Regions from separate parts of the Homo sapiens genome. Here regions 1, 2, 3 and 4 are each linked to region 5. Evidence: promoter capture Hi-C in 16 types of primary human blood cells and fetal thymus (Javierre and others, 2016). All regions are on one chromosome and are shown on one strand. Each heading gives the region's core, a stretch centred on a gene start or on the middle of the fragment in contact. The rest is flanking DNA. Distances are from core to core; before and after follow the strand shown. Region 1 has its middle 1.7 kb from the start of GADD45A. Region 2 holds the start of ALG6 (ALG6 alpha-1,3-glucosyltransferase). Region 3 overlaps SERBP1 (SERPINE1 mRNA binding protein 1). Region 4 overlaps ATG4C (autophagy related 4C cysteine peptidase). Region 5 holds the start of LEPR (leptin receptor).

Region 1 (2,747 bases), core at 113-2,612, 2.3 Mb before region 5:
GTGGCCTCAGCTTGGGCTGAAGCAGGCTGCCAAGTGTTTTTCTATAATAGTTGCGGCACTTTTTTCTTATTATCTTTTCATGTCTTTTGTTTTAAGGGGTGGCTATTAAAATCTATTTCCAGGGTTAATGCACTGAAGTCTAGTAATTATTAGTAAGCAGGTTACATTAAAAAAGTGTCTCCAGACCTCCGGGGCAAAGTTTACCTCAGAAGTGTTGTTTATCTAAGTCTAGGCGAAGCTGCTTATTAGCAGTAGTATTATTTCGGTGCCCTGATGGCTGGTTTGATTTATTTTTGGAAAGCTGCAAGGGTTGGAAGCTGAAAAAAGAAAAACCAACCCGTTTGTATTCAGGGATGGCAGGGAACCAAGTTAGAATCTTTTCCACAGAAAGCAGAACGGTTTCCCACCTGCCCGGTGTAACTGGGAAATCGTGAGCTGGTCTGCGTGGGGAGCTGGTGACCACATGTGGGAATCCCTGGCAACCCAGATTCTCCTTTCTCAAAGAGCCTTGCCCAAACAAGGATCCTTCTGGACGCCCACCAGCTGAGAGACAACCATCTGACACCCACACAGCCCACAAGTCTAAATTCAAAATGCTCTCGATATGCCCTAAGCTTCCTTTCCTAACGTATGTATGTCGTTACCTTCCACAGAGAGCCTCCTATGATCTCACTGTGAATTATTGATGTTAGATGCTGAATCATGAAGCTGTAACTATAGGAAGTTTTTAGTCATATGCTAAAATTTCACCTTTGAGATAATGGCAACTTGTAGGTGGAAAGCAGACCTTTAAAACTGCAAATGGTAGTTACACATTTTTGAAAAACAAACTTTAATATATAGACTCTCACTGAGTAGTTCAAAAGTCCCTTCCTTTGTTTTATGGTTTATGCAATAAAAGCAAAAACATTTCTTAAACCTACTGAAGTCATCAAAAGTGGTGAAAATGGCTCCCACATGCTTGCATTCAAAACAGTGCTTGCATTATTAAGGTTGCTGTACAGCCAAAGGTCACAGAAGTAATTTCTGCAAAGGTACCTGGAAGTTTTGCACCCTTATGTTTTTATCACTCTAGACAAAATATTCTCCAGCTCTCTTGATCTTAATTTGGTGGAAAAGAAAAGTGATAGGTTTTCTGGTTCATTTATTTGAGTTGTCATTTTGCACTCATTTTTTCACTGTGTTGTCAGCCATGGACAACATTTGAGTAAAGAAATGGTCATGGTCAGTGCATAATTCACCTAAGCATGACTATGTATCTCATATCTATGCCTTAAATCTTAACATTTGATGTCTTTCTTAAAGAATTCCTCAACATTGAAATTTAGGTAGGTTACCGAAGCATTTTCAGTTTTGCAGACAAAACCTGAATTACACAATCTAGCCTGAGTCATCATTTGGCGATTGTTAATATGTTCCGTGGAACTCCAAGGTTCTATCCACTAGGCATTTCTTAGAGGTTCTTGGGAAGAAAATGTGATCACAGCAAGCTGACAAAGAATTAGGGAATCATGTGAGTTTCTTGACAGCAAGGACTTCATCAGTTTGGTGTCCTCAGCTCCTAGTACAATACCTGCATTTAGTAGAAGCACAGTCAAGGTTTATTGAGTTGAATAGAATTTGAGAGTTAAATAAGATATCAGAATCCTGCAGTCCTGTGCATTGCATGAATTCTAACATATTGCACATTTAACGTTAGTTCAAAAACACTTTTGCCTGTCTTCTTCTATACCAAGAACTGTACAATTCCTGGTCCTTTGCCTTTAAAGAGCTTAGGCTCTTATTGGTATGTCCATGCTTGAACTGGATTTTGGGACAAAATAGTATGCACTGTCATCAGCTAGCTATGCTGAAAGTCCCATGACTTCAGTCATCTGAATGGAGGCTGTAGGACAGTAGAACCGGTGTATTGTTTACACCAATTCAAATGAACCACAGTCCTAAAGTGCCCCACCCAAGTCGACTATATCCAGTAAAAATGTGATATCAAATGGTTACTTCTTATTATAGGCTTAGTCCTCCACTCAAAAATTATACTGCATGCTATATTTGACTTCATCAGAAAGTTATTTGCCCAAGTATTTTGGGGATTTTCTCTGAGATAAGCTTGGGCTTCCAGTATGCAAAAATATTCATTTGTCATACTTTCTGACTCAGATACGTTACATCATTTTGCCTGATTGCTGAGTATACCTAGAATGTTTTCTCAGTGATTATCTTCAAAGTTGGGCCTCATGACTGGAAGTAAAAACTGCATTTAGCTACACAGTTAGATTGTAGTTACACATTAGAATGGACATAGTTGATTTATCATTAACTGTTTATTAGTCCTGGAGGACATTGATAGTCAATGGTAAATCAGAGAAATTTTCCTATATCAATATTATATATATATATATATTTCTTTATAATCAGTGTGATAACTCCAATATGTGATGTCATTTTAAAAACCACTACAGGTAACTCTGACAACTGCCAAGTACACAGGAGTAGAATGCTCTTGTAGTAATGTTTGTAAAGATACCAAATGATTATATTTAGAAATCATATGGAAATATATACTCAAGAATTGTTCAATTATTTTAGCACTGCTACTTGCTTTGCATATTAAAGATCTTTTTGATATTTTAGTCATGCTTATCCTACATACATTCCTACTACTGGTTCCATAATGCAGAATTATTCTTTCTTTCTTTCAAAAAACAATCAATGCTTTAACATCTGAAAGAAATATAATGCTTGTTATT
Region 2 (2,913 bases), core at 40-2,539, 2.1 Mb after region 5:
TTTGAGTAGTGGTTAGGAAATGTGTTGACTTTAGGATAAATTAACAAGTTACAACTTATAATTTGCGTACAGTATTTTTCTATATGGTATATTCCAATTTAAAAAGCATAAAAGGGGCTGGGCGCAGTGGTTCACCCCTGTAATCCCAGCACTTTGGGAGGCCGAGGCAGGTGGATCACCTGAGGTCAGGAGTTCGAGACCAGCCTGGTCAACATGGTGAAACCCCATCTCTACTAAAAATACAAAAATTAGCTGGGCGTGGTGGTGCGTTCCTGTAATCCCAGCTACTCGTGAGGCTGAGGCAGGAAAATCGCTCGAACCCGGGAGGCAGAGGTTGCAGTGAGCCAAGATCGTGCCACTGCACTCCAGCCTGGGCGACAGAGCAAGACTCTGTCTCAATTAAAAAAAAAAAAAGTGTAAAAGGAAATTACTTGGATGTGTTGACTAAAGGCTCCCTGTGAGCAGGGATCCTCCTGTCTTAGTCGTTGCTCTCTGTTCCCCACTTGTAGAACAGTGTTAGCAGAAGGCAGGTACCCAAGAAGTATTTGCTGAATGGAGCTGTGTGCGTCTGTGTGTACGAAGCGGGGAGGTACCCTAATTTTACTGAGCCCTGTGTGGTTAAAGATATTATGCGAGGCTTTTAACGACTCTCTTCTGCTTAAACCAGAAAAAGGGTTATTTGCGACTTTTTCCACCTGTAAATCAGAAAACAGTAATTTTCTAACCCATCCACTGGCCACGAAGTTGCTAGGCAGGCAGTAGATGCGCTTTTCGTCCTCCTTTGCCCTGACGGTGCATCTCGACAAATGCCAAGCCCGCCGTCCCCATCCCAGAACCGACTTTGCTCCTTTTAGTCTGAAAGGTCCTTCCACCGCAGTGGACACAACACCGGGGAGTGCAGCTATCCCGGGCGTGTATATGGGGCGAAAGGGATCCCTTCTCGCGTTTCTCCGCCCCTCCTCTTGAGGGCCAGGCCCTCAGAACCGCAAGGACAAGGGTGCCAGGACCGCCCCAGCCTGCAAGTGCCACCACTATCACCGCGTCCCCTCACCCGACCCACAAGCGACCCTGCAGGAAGGGCTGGGGAGGCCTCGCGTCGCGTCCCTGGGAGTGGAGCGGAGCTGGGAGACGGGTCGCCAGCTCTGCGCCGGCTCGTGGCGCGTCCGAGCCCCCGGCACCTCCCCACACTGGCCTGGGGTCCGGAACCTCCGGGATCCCATGCTCTTACCCCGCCGCCCGCCGGCCGCTGGGATTCGCGCCTGCCGTGGGTCCCAGGAAGGCGCATGCGCGCTCGCCCCCGCGGCGGACTGCCCCTCCGGCCTTCCGCCTCCGTGTGCCCGCGCACCACCCGCGCGCCCGGTGCGGGAGCGAGCCCGTCGAGCGTGAGGGGAGGGGCGGGCAACCTGGCCTGGACAGGAGGCGGCCGGCTTAGGAGGCGGGGCAAGAGCCGATGGAACCCGAGAGGTCCCCAGCCCCGGGTTAGGCTAGGGGCAGGTGGAAAGCCCCTTGCTCTTCTTTCCTGGGATCGTGGCCAAGGCCGGAGCGGCTGCTTAGCCAACGGATTCCTGTCAGGGGCGGGCCCTGGCTTGCTGCACTGAGCAGAGAGCCTTGGCCGGTCCTCACCACCTCTGGGCCTGTGCCCTCGAGGAGCCAGAAAGCCAACCTGCTTCACTTTCTTCTAGCCACATGCCTGCGAAGAAGAAGACTGGGCAGCCCCCTAAAGTAAGAAACATTGAACATCCAACCATTTGCGAGAGCCTGTGCGTTGTGCAAAAGGACAGCCCTGCCCTCGAGTAGCCACTACACGTGCCCCAGCGGGCAGCTTGAATCACCTGGTCCCAAACTTGCCAAAAATACCTATCTAGTAAGTTAGTAAGACCTGCACACTTTTCCTTTTGCATTGATCCCTTCCTTTCCAGTTCCACTATTTCCATCTCAGTCTAGGCTTCTGTCCAATCACGCATGGACGGCTGTGATGATTTTTACTTGCCTTCCTTTGTTCAGAGAGTGCCCTCATTCCCCACTTCTGAATCTTGCCATTCTACGTAAGCCAACCCCTATAATTTGTAAGTGTTAGCAAATATTTGGCTAGGACTATGGCTTTCTACTGAGTCTGAATAACTTCTCTCTGGGCCTCAGTTTCTTCAACTGTGAAAGAAATCAGTAGGGCTAGGTGAACTTCCAGGTCTAAAATATGATTATATCTAAAAGACCATCAGCACTGGGAATATGGAGAAATATGGCAGGTCCCTGCCCTCAAGGCATTTAATTCTCATTGGAAAGACATTTTTATGCATAAAAGGATAAAAAGCTATAGAAGGAAACACATACTAAATGTTACATTACTTACATATGCACTAAGCACTGTAGGAGTTAGGAGAAGAGGGTTCACTGTAAACTGCAAACCATCAGGAAATGCTTTTCCTGGAGGAGTCAGCTGAGCTTTGAAGGAAAGCCTGGCTGGATAAGCCCAGAGAATGAGAGTAAGAATCTAGACAAAGGAAATGGTTCAAGCCAAATATTGTGGCAGCTGAAAAGTGTAGAACATTTCCTCTAGTTTAGGTGGTGGGTGATGAAGCTGGAAAGGACTGGTAATTGTAGAGAGCCTTGAATACCAGGCTATGGTGTCTGGAATGTATCCAGTGATCAGTAAGGGGCTATTAAATGACTTTTAGCAGGGAGTCAAGTATACAGTACAGTTACAGTGTTAGAGAAAACTTAAAGTGGTGAAAATGGATCAGATGAATCAGAGGGAGACTATAGCAGTCCACGCATGATTAGACAAGGGCTTGGACTGAGATGGCAATAGTGGAACTGCAAAGGGAGAGATCAATGCAAGAAGAAACATGTACAGGTCTTTTTTTTTTTTTTCTGAGACGCAGTTTCGCTCTTGTTCTCTTGTTGCCCAGGCTG
Region 3 (2,778 bases), core at 83-2,582, 2.0 Mb before region 5:
CGTTCCAGGCCATCAGACGTGTGGAGTAAGCTGCAGGTTGGGGTGCCGCATGTCCTTTATTTGTTTCTCTTCCACCTCTCAACTGTTAGGACTTTCTCATAACTTGCTGGGGTGAGTTGAGCCGTTGGGAAATGGAGGAGTTTGGCCACACTCGATTAACCAGGAGCGGGAATTATGAATGAAGACTGGTGATTGCAGGACATCCCGAGGAACGTCCTCGAGTCACGATCCTCTCTCTCGACTCCCCAAACTGAATCTTTCACGTGGTGGGGTCTGGGCCTCGTGGGTGAAGTGAGTGCAGAGGCTGTCACAGCGTTAGTCGCAGCAGAGCTCTTTAGAGTTCGCAGTTTTTTTTTTCCACCACATGTGCGTGAAGCATGGTCAGAGTTTCACTGGCGGTTAATAGTTGTTTCTAGGGCACTGTGAGTTTCACAGGATTGTCTTGATTTTTGCATTCGCTTTACCAGTTTGTTGCGGATGAAAAAAAAGAGCAAGCAGTTTGGAGATAAGAACGTGCATGATCAATAGCAAGCAGGTGTTGGACCTAAGGTCTGAATCTTTAAAGCTGCATTTATATGTTGAAAGTTGAAATTACCCCTTCCTGCCACGTGCTTCTCTGAAAGGAGTTGTTTCTCTTTAGCTTTAGTTGAATTCTGTAACAGTGAACTAATTTTAAAAATCAAAACAATTTTCTCGTGGTAGGATTTGTTTTAGGAGGGTTTTTTTTTTTTTTTTTGAGGACTTTTGTGAGGCTCGGAATGAAGAACCTCGGTCCTAGGTGGTGAATAAAAGAAAATAATTAATTCTTGTGGTAAAATTATAGGTTGAGGAAAAATACAGTTGGAGTATTAGAAAGCATGTATATCACTTAGGCCAAGTATCTCTTCAGCCAGTTAAGCTTTATGGCAATCTAGCACAATTAAATAAATCATTTAATTCGTGTGTTAAGTAACGCTGACTTGTGTAATTATTTAAACTATGCTTAAGCTTAAGAAAGTACACGAAAAAGTTGAATCTGACGAATAATGTGTACCAGGTAGATGTGTTCACTCATTTTGAATGTTCAAAACATGAAGCATGGTTTAAATGCCTGAGTTATTTTGATCATGAAGCCCATCTATGAAATAAGCTCTTACCTGAAAAGTAGTATTTTAAGTTAACAAATGTGGGGAATGATTTCATGAAGTTAGAACCAAGACTTAGGTTCACCGTTCAATGAGTCTTTCCATGGGAAAACTATTCCATGTTAGCAATCAGCATTTTCCTTAGGTCAGTATTTCAGAGCACTACTGTTAAGTTGCATAAAATACAAGCATGTAAAATACAGGAAAAGTGTTGAATGGACAATACCCGTTTTGAGATTCTACTGTCCTGATTACTGGGAATAAATCTGTAAACAAAGTCGCTGCATGTAGTAGGAAGGTTAACCTGATTGTGTTCTGTGATTTTGATAACACATTGTGACATAATACTTGACATACTTTAGACAGATATTTAATGTTTATGTTTTATGAATTAATTTTGTACATTCTCTTGCCCATTTGAAGAACTTGAGAATTGACAGCAGAATGTCATTGAGAGTGTAGACCAGGGATTTTCTAAAAAAGAATGAATGCCTTGAAACTAGTGCAGTTAGTGAGCTTGCAAGTTATAGATAAGTATATCAAAAGAAGCTTGCATTTTTAAATGTCAGTCTTTTTCATTAGGTAGGTTTAATACGTTTTTAAGATTCTGTAAACTTGATATTGGGTGGGGACGCCAACTATTGTTCACTTGGGTGTGTTTGGCTTGGATATTATTGCAAGGACTGGTTCCATAACTCCACCCCAGTGCACTTTATTACTGATGACATTTATTTAAATACCTTGGTGTAAGGTCTAATATTTGTAGTCTATCTTGAGTATTTACAGGGAATGAACTTCAAAATTCTATTGAAGAGATTGATAGTTACTGTTTGGCTCCAGTTAACAGGCAGCAGAACAACTGGGTGTGTCTTGATGGTGTTCTACTTTCTTAGAAAGAACCAAAGTGAAGCAGCTTAAAATCTTGTAAAACCAATTCCTCAGCTGCTTTATGACTTTGTCAGAAATTGGGAATTAGAGCATACCAACAATCTTAAAGTCATTAATTTAACCATCAATCTGTTGATCCTTATGGGCACCAATAATTTAAATTGGTTGCCTTTGTGGGGTTTCAGACATTACAGGAAAAAAGTAGTAAAGGGGGAAATTAGTAAATGCTTCAGCTATCACTTAGTGTCACAAGTTTTCTTATTTCTTACATGTTGCTTAAAAGCGGTCTTAACGTGTGTGTATTTGGTTTTTAAAGATTCTTTGAAAATAAAGATAGTTGTTAGGGCAAATTTTTTAGAGGACTCTCTCCATGCATAATAAGTAACTGTTTCCTAACTTGGAAGTACTTAGGGATGTGGGAGTGTGTACAAACATATATACACTTACATGCTATAAAATTTTAAACTTTAATAGGGGAAGATGGCCCTTTTTGTGTGCCTGTAGCTAAGAAGACCAAAAGATGACACTTTTTCTGGTTAAATGGCTGTTTTAAACTGAAGTGATGTTCTCTAATAATCCTAAATGCCATATTTTCCTTTCAGATTTGTAATTTTATAGAATTATGAGTCTTAATTGCATTTTTTTTTCAGATTAGATAGAATAACATAGTGCGGCCCTCACTTTTGTGAGGGGCCATATCTAGTGAGTGTGTTGATTTGCTTGGTTATTTATGAATGGCTGCTGGTATTTTCTTTGGTATTTTAAA
Region 4 (2,845 bases), core at 137-2,636, 2.6 Mb after region 5:
CGATGTTCTCTACCTCGGTGAAGGGTGCAACAATCCTTCCAGTTATATAAGCCAAAAACCTAAGATTAGCCCATGATATCTTCCTCTCCCTCACCTTCCATATCTAATCCATCGCCTAGTTCCACCTCCTGAACACCTCTGGAATCCATCTTACCACCACCACCTTGTCCAAAATACCATCTCTCAATTGGGCCACTCCAACAATCTTCTAACTGGCCTCTCCCCATCCCCACTCTTATCCCCTCTGTAATCAGTTCTTCCTCTGTGTAACATCAAGTCCTTTTTTAATAGCATTTACCACAGTTGTAACTTTAAATTTCTTTGACTATTTGATTTATGTCTGCCTCCTCTGTTAGTAAATTCTATGAGGGTAAACACCGTATTTACTCACTACTATACCACTGTGGCCTAGAAGAGTGTCTAGTTAATAAATAAATGCTAAATGATTGAATGCATGTCAAATATTACAATTTTACTTATATATAGTCCAAAAAATAAAAATAAAGTGCTTTATAAGGCTCACCAATTATTCTATATCACAGATTTTCACTTGTTTTTTTTTTTTTTGAGACAGGGTCCTAATTTCTACCTACCAATCCCTAACCACTATTTAAATTCCACATTAGATCTCATCTTCATGAAACATTCCCTAGTTATCTCTCTTCTCACCTTTAACATTCTAAAACACTCCCGTAAAATCTAATACATATTGACTATATTTTCTGCTTCTTGAAGGGAAAGTTTACATCTCATACATTCTGCTAGAGTATAAGCTCCCTAAGAGCAGGGACTTTTCTTGTTCACTCTATATCCCCAGCACCTTGAAGAGTGTCTGGTATGAATAGCTGCTCAGTAAGCATATGTTGATTTAACGCTCTTTATATATTTCAGGATAGAGCACAGATCCTTGCAGCTGTTGTACAGTGGGAAGAGTCGAAAAGAACTGAATTAATTTCCTTAAATTCTTCAAGCTTCAGTTTTTTCATCTGTTAAATGTAAATAATACTCAATAGCTTAGTTGGAATAACTGCGCTAATGCTTTAAAAGTATCTATGCAGAGCTGAGGACAAGAGGATACTCTTACAAACAAATGTTTTGGTGATTTTGTGACAATAGTTAAATAGTAAGTAGTCACTAAATTCCTACTAAATGAATAAAATCTCAGGAAAAATATTAAAAGATTGAGTAATGGCTACCGTATCATTTTTTTCAATAAAAAATTATATGAGTAAATTTATTCTGAAATATATTTCGCCCCAAATCTTAAGCATGGCTGAAACCATTTCAGCATTTTGTGCATTAATTAGGAATAATCCCAATTTAACATTGTACCAGTATTAATATTTATATTTTACTGACATGTATAGATCATACTTGATAGCTTAAAAAAGAATGATAATCTTAGTATAAGAACCTCTTTAGTGCAATAATTGGAATAGAAAACGAGCTGCAAACTCATTTGAGTTACGTGGTTCCCCAGAAAGCCAGAAAATTTCTGCCTTTTTATAAAACATTAGTGAACAGAATACGATGCTGTTCACCAGAACCATCAAAACATCTAGAAATACTTCATAACCAATCACCATAAATACATTTTTCCAAATACTTGAATCCTATTTTAAAGAAAAAGAGCATTAATTAAATGGCTTTTAATGACTTTTTGCTAAATTATACAATTCTTTAGATGGGCCACTTTTTGACATGTGGTTCTAAAAATTTTATAGCGAATGAACTGGTAATTCAATATAGCCTCAGATTATTGGACTAAATAGAAACTCTTCCTGTTCAAAGAAGAAGCTTTATCAATTTGAAACTCAGAAAATACATAGACTTTACCTTTCAAAGCCTTTCCACTCCCTCTGGGTATTCTCAATGGCTCATAATCTAATTACAAGTCACAAGCAAGCAAGAAGATCATTCCCTTGTCTCTTTCTGCCATCAACTGACACAAAATCATTGCCAAAAACCCACCGGGGACATATGGTCCGAGCAGGAAAACATAAGAAAACTCCTAAGTAATTCGGATATAAAAAGATGTAAGACGAGGTATTCTTCTGTAACTATAGGGTAGCAGTGAGCCCCATGTGGGTAAATAACCAATACAAAACGAAAAGGTAAGCCAAAGAAATCACAAGAAATATAAACTCAATAAGCAGTGATGCTGAGTTGACCGCTGAAGGTTCTCATATATGAATATAGTCATCATATGTAAGAATTTATTCTACACCTCCAACCTCAAAAGCCCTTAGATGTGGGTAGGGTTGGGAGAGTTCACGGTGAGCGGGAACCAAATGAAGTGAATGAACGTTAATATTTAGATGGAAAGGCATTAATATATGCAAGGCAGTGTGTTATGGCTTGAAGCAGTAACAAACACCAAAAAGGGAGAAAGAGGCTAGGAATGAGAACAGAGAGACAGTGGGGATCCAGTTATTATTATTATTTCCCTTTTTTTATTTTTTAAACGAGGAAAAACAGGGCCGACAGAGCACTGGCATGAGGAGGGGTCAAATGGATGCGATAGATCAGGGGAAAGAGTCTTGCCTGCAACATCTAAGAAAACCACAAGGAAAGGAGGAACAGCTGCCCACAGTTAGGCTTACGGTTTATCTCTGCAACCCAGGACAAAGCGAGGAAGAGTTAGAAGACAAATGACACTAGAAAGGAGAGACAAGGAAGGCGCCAAAACCCTCAGAGAACCCAGATGGTTGGCCACAGGGTCTTCACTGAAGGCGGACCCCCGCAAGAAACCCAGTCATTCGGGGACCAGAGACGCTAAGTCCCAAACTTCTTGACTCCTTTAGCCTCAAGCCGATCCCTCACCGAAAGAGAAGGACTGGAGAAC
Region 5 (2,919 bases), core at 152-2,651:
ATCTGTTCTCCCACCGCATCTGAGCCCAACATAAACACTGACATAGTAATATAATTATTTCCAGCTCTGTCACCCACCAATAACTTCTCATTTATCTTTGTATCCTAAGTCTCTGGCATACAGTAGTTCCTCAATAAAAGTTGAACAATCTGTAAAATGCTTCCTTCCCTTAGTCCGTTTCCATTTCAGACTTCCTTTTTTTTCACTACATCACAATTTTCTAACACATTCACACATAAACGTGATCATGATTTGGTAGTTTCTGATCATGTGTAGTACTGAGACACTACTTTTCATCTGTTTTCGGCATTGGCTTCAAATGGATATATAACACAGTCGACACTCTCCAAGTAAACCATGTTTACTAAACTGATATTAAGTATAAAAGTCAGCCAGAAATAACGATAAAATGTCTGCTGCTAACAGCTCACATACTCGGATAAATTCATAGTGAACAGAGGCGTACTCGTATATATACTATCTACATGTTTATAGCAGATGTTAACTGGGGATATCTTTGGGTGCAAATTTCAAGGATGATATAAAAGCCAATATAAAAACAAGTCATGCTACTCTATTCGACAGATTAGAAATGGAATGTTTTCCTACCAAAATACAGGAAGCCTTGCAAAAAACCTTTTCCGTCTCGCATTGCTCTGAAGCCATACAGATAAGGGACGCGGTGTTTTTACCAACTGCCCCATGCAAAAAACACATACTACACACACACTGGTTTCTTCTCTGTCCATAAACAGAGAAAACACCGAAGAAAGCAGTATTAAAATTACACGTAATCTACTCTCCACGACTGCGAGAAACACCGTCTTTCTGGGTGCTTTCCATTGACACCCGCCCGCGGTCAACTCTGCCCAGTTGGAAAAATCATTAGGAAAAAGAGGATTAAGTTTCCCAATGCTAAGAACGCTGGAGACAAAGGGTCCTTTGTGGCAAATAGGAAACTGCGGAGGGGCAGAAAACCAGAAGAAAGGCGTTAGGGTGGCGTCAAGAAGTGGAAACCTTGTTTAAAAACTCAGGAGAGGTGGAGGGCGCCGCTCTCGCCGAGGGCTCAGGCTGGGGAGGGGTCTGGTGCCGCCACTGGAGAGCAGGAAGGCCAGCGGCCTTGCAAAAAGGGCCAAGGCTCCCCCGAAACGCCGCTCCACCCACACCCCAAGGGACGAAGGGAGCGGTCGATCGCCTCCCGAACCGGAGAGGCGGGAAGGGTGGTGAGGCCGTTCCCCAACGGCGCGCGGAAGGCGCAGCCCCAGGCTTGACCGGAACGGAGGTGGCAACCCCACCACACGACAAGCGAGCCGGGGACCGCGATGTACCTTTAACGCCCGCCATGTCTCCCGAACTGGGGCCGCGGCTGCTTCCGGCTTCCTGCCACGGCCCGGGCAGCCTGCCCAAGCCAGACCGGGAGTCGCCCCGCGGATCCCGAGCCCGCCCCGGCCACGCAGAGCCCCGCCCCCGCCGGTGCAGAACTCCGACCTTAGCTCGCAAACGCGGCGCCTGCTGCTCCAGACCCCGCCCCCACCACTCACAACCCCGCCCCCGCCGGTGCAGAACCCCGCCCCCAGCTCGCAGAGGCCGCGCCTGATAGTTCAGACCCGGCCTCGCTACTCAGAGCCCCGCCCCTGACAGTACAGAGCTCCTCCCCTACCTCGCGGAGGCAGCGCCTGCGGCTCCAGACCTCGCTACCGCTACTCGAAGCCCCGCCCCAGACAATGCAGAGCTCCTCCCCTAGCTCGCGGAGGCCTCCCCTGCTGGTCCCGCCCCAGCCCTCACCGGCCCAGAATTCCGCCCCCAACTCTCAGAGGCCGTCCCTGCTGGTCCCGACCCCGCCCCCGCCACCCAGAACTCCGCTCCTGCCAGTCTAGAACTCCGCCCCCAGCTCGCAGAGTCCATCTCCAGCCCTAAGGTCCCACCTGGTCCCACAGAGCTTTCCCAGAGTAACCCCAACCCAGTGCCCTGGGCCCTCCTCCTAGATCCTGAGCCCTCCAAGTAATCCTCAAGCCCGTTCAATGTGGGTTGGGACCTTGGCTCCGCCCCGACCGCGGGCCCAGAGTCTCTCCCCGGCCTCTCAGAACGCAGTGCACGCAGCGGGGGATCCTCCCTGAGCCTTCCTGAGAACGGAGATGTAGAAAGTGGGGAGAGGCAGGAGAGGGAAGGAGGGGAAAAGTTGCAATCGATGGGAGAGGGACACCGACTCACTAACCAGTGTTATGTTCCCTGAGCTCCCAAGTGCGTGCTAGTGTGCGAGTGTGTGCCTGTCTGCCTTCACATGACTGTGGCAGAGGAGAGGCGGGGTACCAGAGGACAGGCCCCTTAGGAAACACTCCTCATTAAGAACTTGATATTTGCATAGGTTTGCTTTGCTTAATAGCAACGCTTTACTGAAACTAGCGGGGTTTTTCTTTACTCCCTGGTTTATTTATAGAGACGAAGACCATATAAGCTTTTGTGTCCGAAGCTTTCATGAACCTTAAAAAAAAAAATAAAAAAAAAAAGCTATTATTTTTGTGCCTTGGGGCCTCAAAGTTTGCAGGTAACCAAGGCCAGTTTTTAGATCTCTGAGAGCCATTGTGTACTTATCTTACAGGAATGGAGAGTTCTGTTTTGGCAAAAGCAATCTAGAAGATCATTGAAACAGTCTGGTCCAAATGCTTCAACTTACATTTAAGGAAAGAGGTGCAGAAAGGATAGGACTTGCCTGTCACACAGCTCTTTGGAGGAGGTTGGATTCTGGGCCACTTCCCCTCATTCTAGCTGAGATCCACTCTACCTGATGGTGCCGTCCCTCTTCTCTTGCTTTTTCTCCGTTTTCAAAAGGACTGAAAGACAAAGGAATCTGTGGAAACCTAGCTTCCCCTGGCTACCTGAGAAGTATAAATTCTCACCACCATCATGTTTCATGATCCT

What was found. The method cuts DNA at HindIII sites, captures the fragments that hold promoters and counts their contacts. A CHiCAGO score of 5 or more calls a contact.
Region 1: a contact is called between a fragment that was not itself captured here and the fragment with the promoter of LEPR in region 5, in 4 of 17 cell types (fetal thymus, naive CD4 T cells, non-activated CD4 T cells and 1 more). The highest score is 11.1, in fetal thymus.
Region 2: a contact is called between the fragment with the promoter of ALG6 here and the fragment with the promoter of LEPR in region 5, in 6 of 17 cell types (non-activated CD4 T cells, naive CD8 T cells, total CD4 T cells and 3 more). The highest score is 10.5, in non-activated CD4 T cells.
Region 3: a contact is called between a fragment that was not itself captured here and the fragment with the promoter of LEPR in region 5, in 1 of 17 cell types (total B cells). The highest score is 5.3, in total B cells.
Region 4: a fragment that was not itself captured here is called in contact with the fragment with the promoter of LEPR in region 5 in 1 of 17 cell types (naive CD4 T cells); the score reaches 6.9 in naive CD4 T cells.

The regions. Positions count from the first base shown.
Region 1 is chr1:67,682,161-67,684,907 of GRCh38, reverse strand. No RefSeq gene overlaps it. Among named protein-coding and RNA genes, the nearest start is that of GADD45A, 1.7 kb to the left of the region's middle. RefSeq lists a silencer at 1-43 and a cis regulatory region at 1,806-2,298. The HindIII fragment of the contact is 1,492 bases long and covers 617-2,108 here.
Region 2 is chr1:63,366,003-63,368,915 of GRCh38, reverse strand. It overlaps ALG6 (ALG6 alpha-1,3-glucosyltransferase), which reads right to left and starts at 1,289. Exons shown (of 15, transcript NM_013339.4): 1 at 1,229-1,289. RefSeq lists enhancers at 720-829, 1,690-1,829 and a silencer at 1,010-1,489. The HindIII fragment of the contact is 8,093 bases long and covers 1-2,913 here.
Region 3 is chr1:67,426,694-67,429,471 of GRCh38, reverse strand. The region is part of intron 1 of SERBP1 (SERPINE1 mRNA binding protein 1); the gene reads left to right. Among named protein-coding and RNA genes, the nearest start is that of SERBP1, 2.3 kb to the left of the region's middle. RefSeq lists an enhancer at 1-533. The HindIII fragment of the contact is 686 bases long and covers 990-1,675 here.
Region 4 is chr1:62,784,252-62,787,096 of GRCh38, reverse strand. ATG4C (autophagy related 4C cysteine peptidase) reads right to left here. Exons shown (of 11, transcript NM_032852.4): 1 at 2,824-2,845. Among named protein-coding and RNA genes, the nearest start is that of ATG4C, 1.5 kb to the right of the region's middle. RefSeq lists a silencer at 2,485-2,779 and an enhancer at 2,755-2,845. The HindIII fragment of the contact is 826 bases long and covers 974-1,799 here.
Region 5 is chr1:65,419,150-65,422,068 of GRCh38, reverse strand. LEPR (leptin receptor) reads right to left here and starts at 1,401. Exons shown (of 20, transcript NM_002303.6): 1 at 1,329-1,401. LEPROT (leptin receptor overlapping transcript) reads right to left here and starts at 1,401. Exons shown (of 4, transcript NM_017526.5): 1 at 1,329-1,401. The coding sequence starts at 1,344. RefSeq lists enhancers at 898-947, 1,021-1,554, 1,555-2,087 and silencers at 1,318-1,817, 1,838-1,907. The HindIII fragment of the contact is 9,332 bases long and covers 1-2,457 here.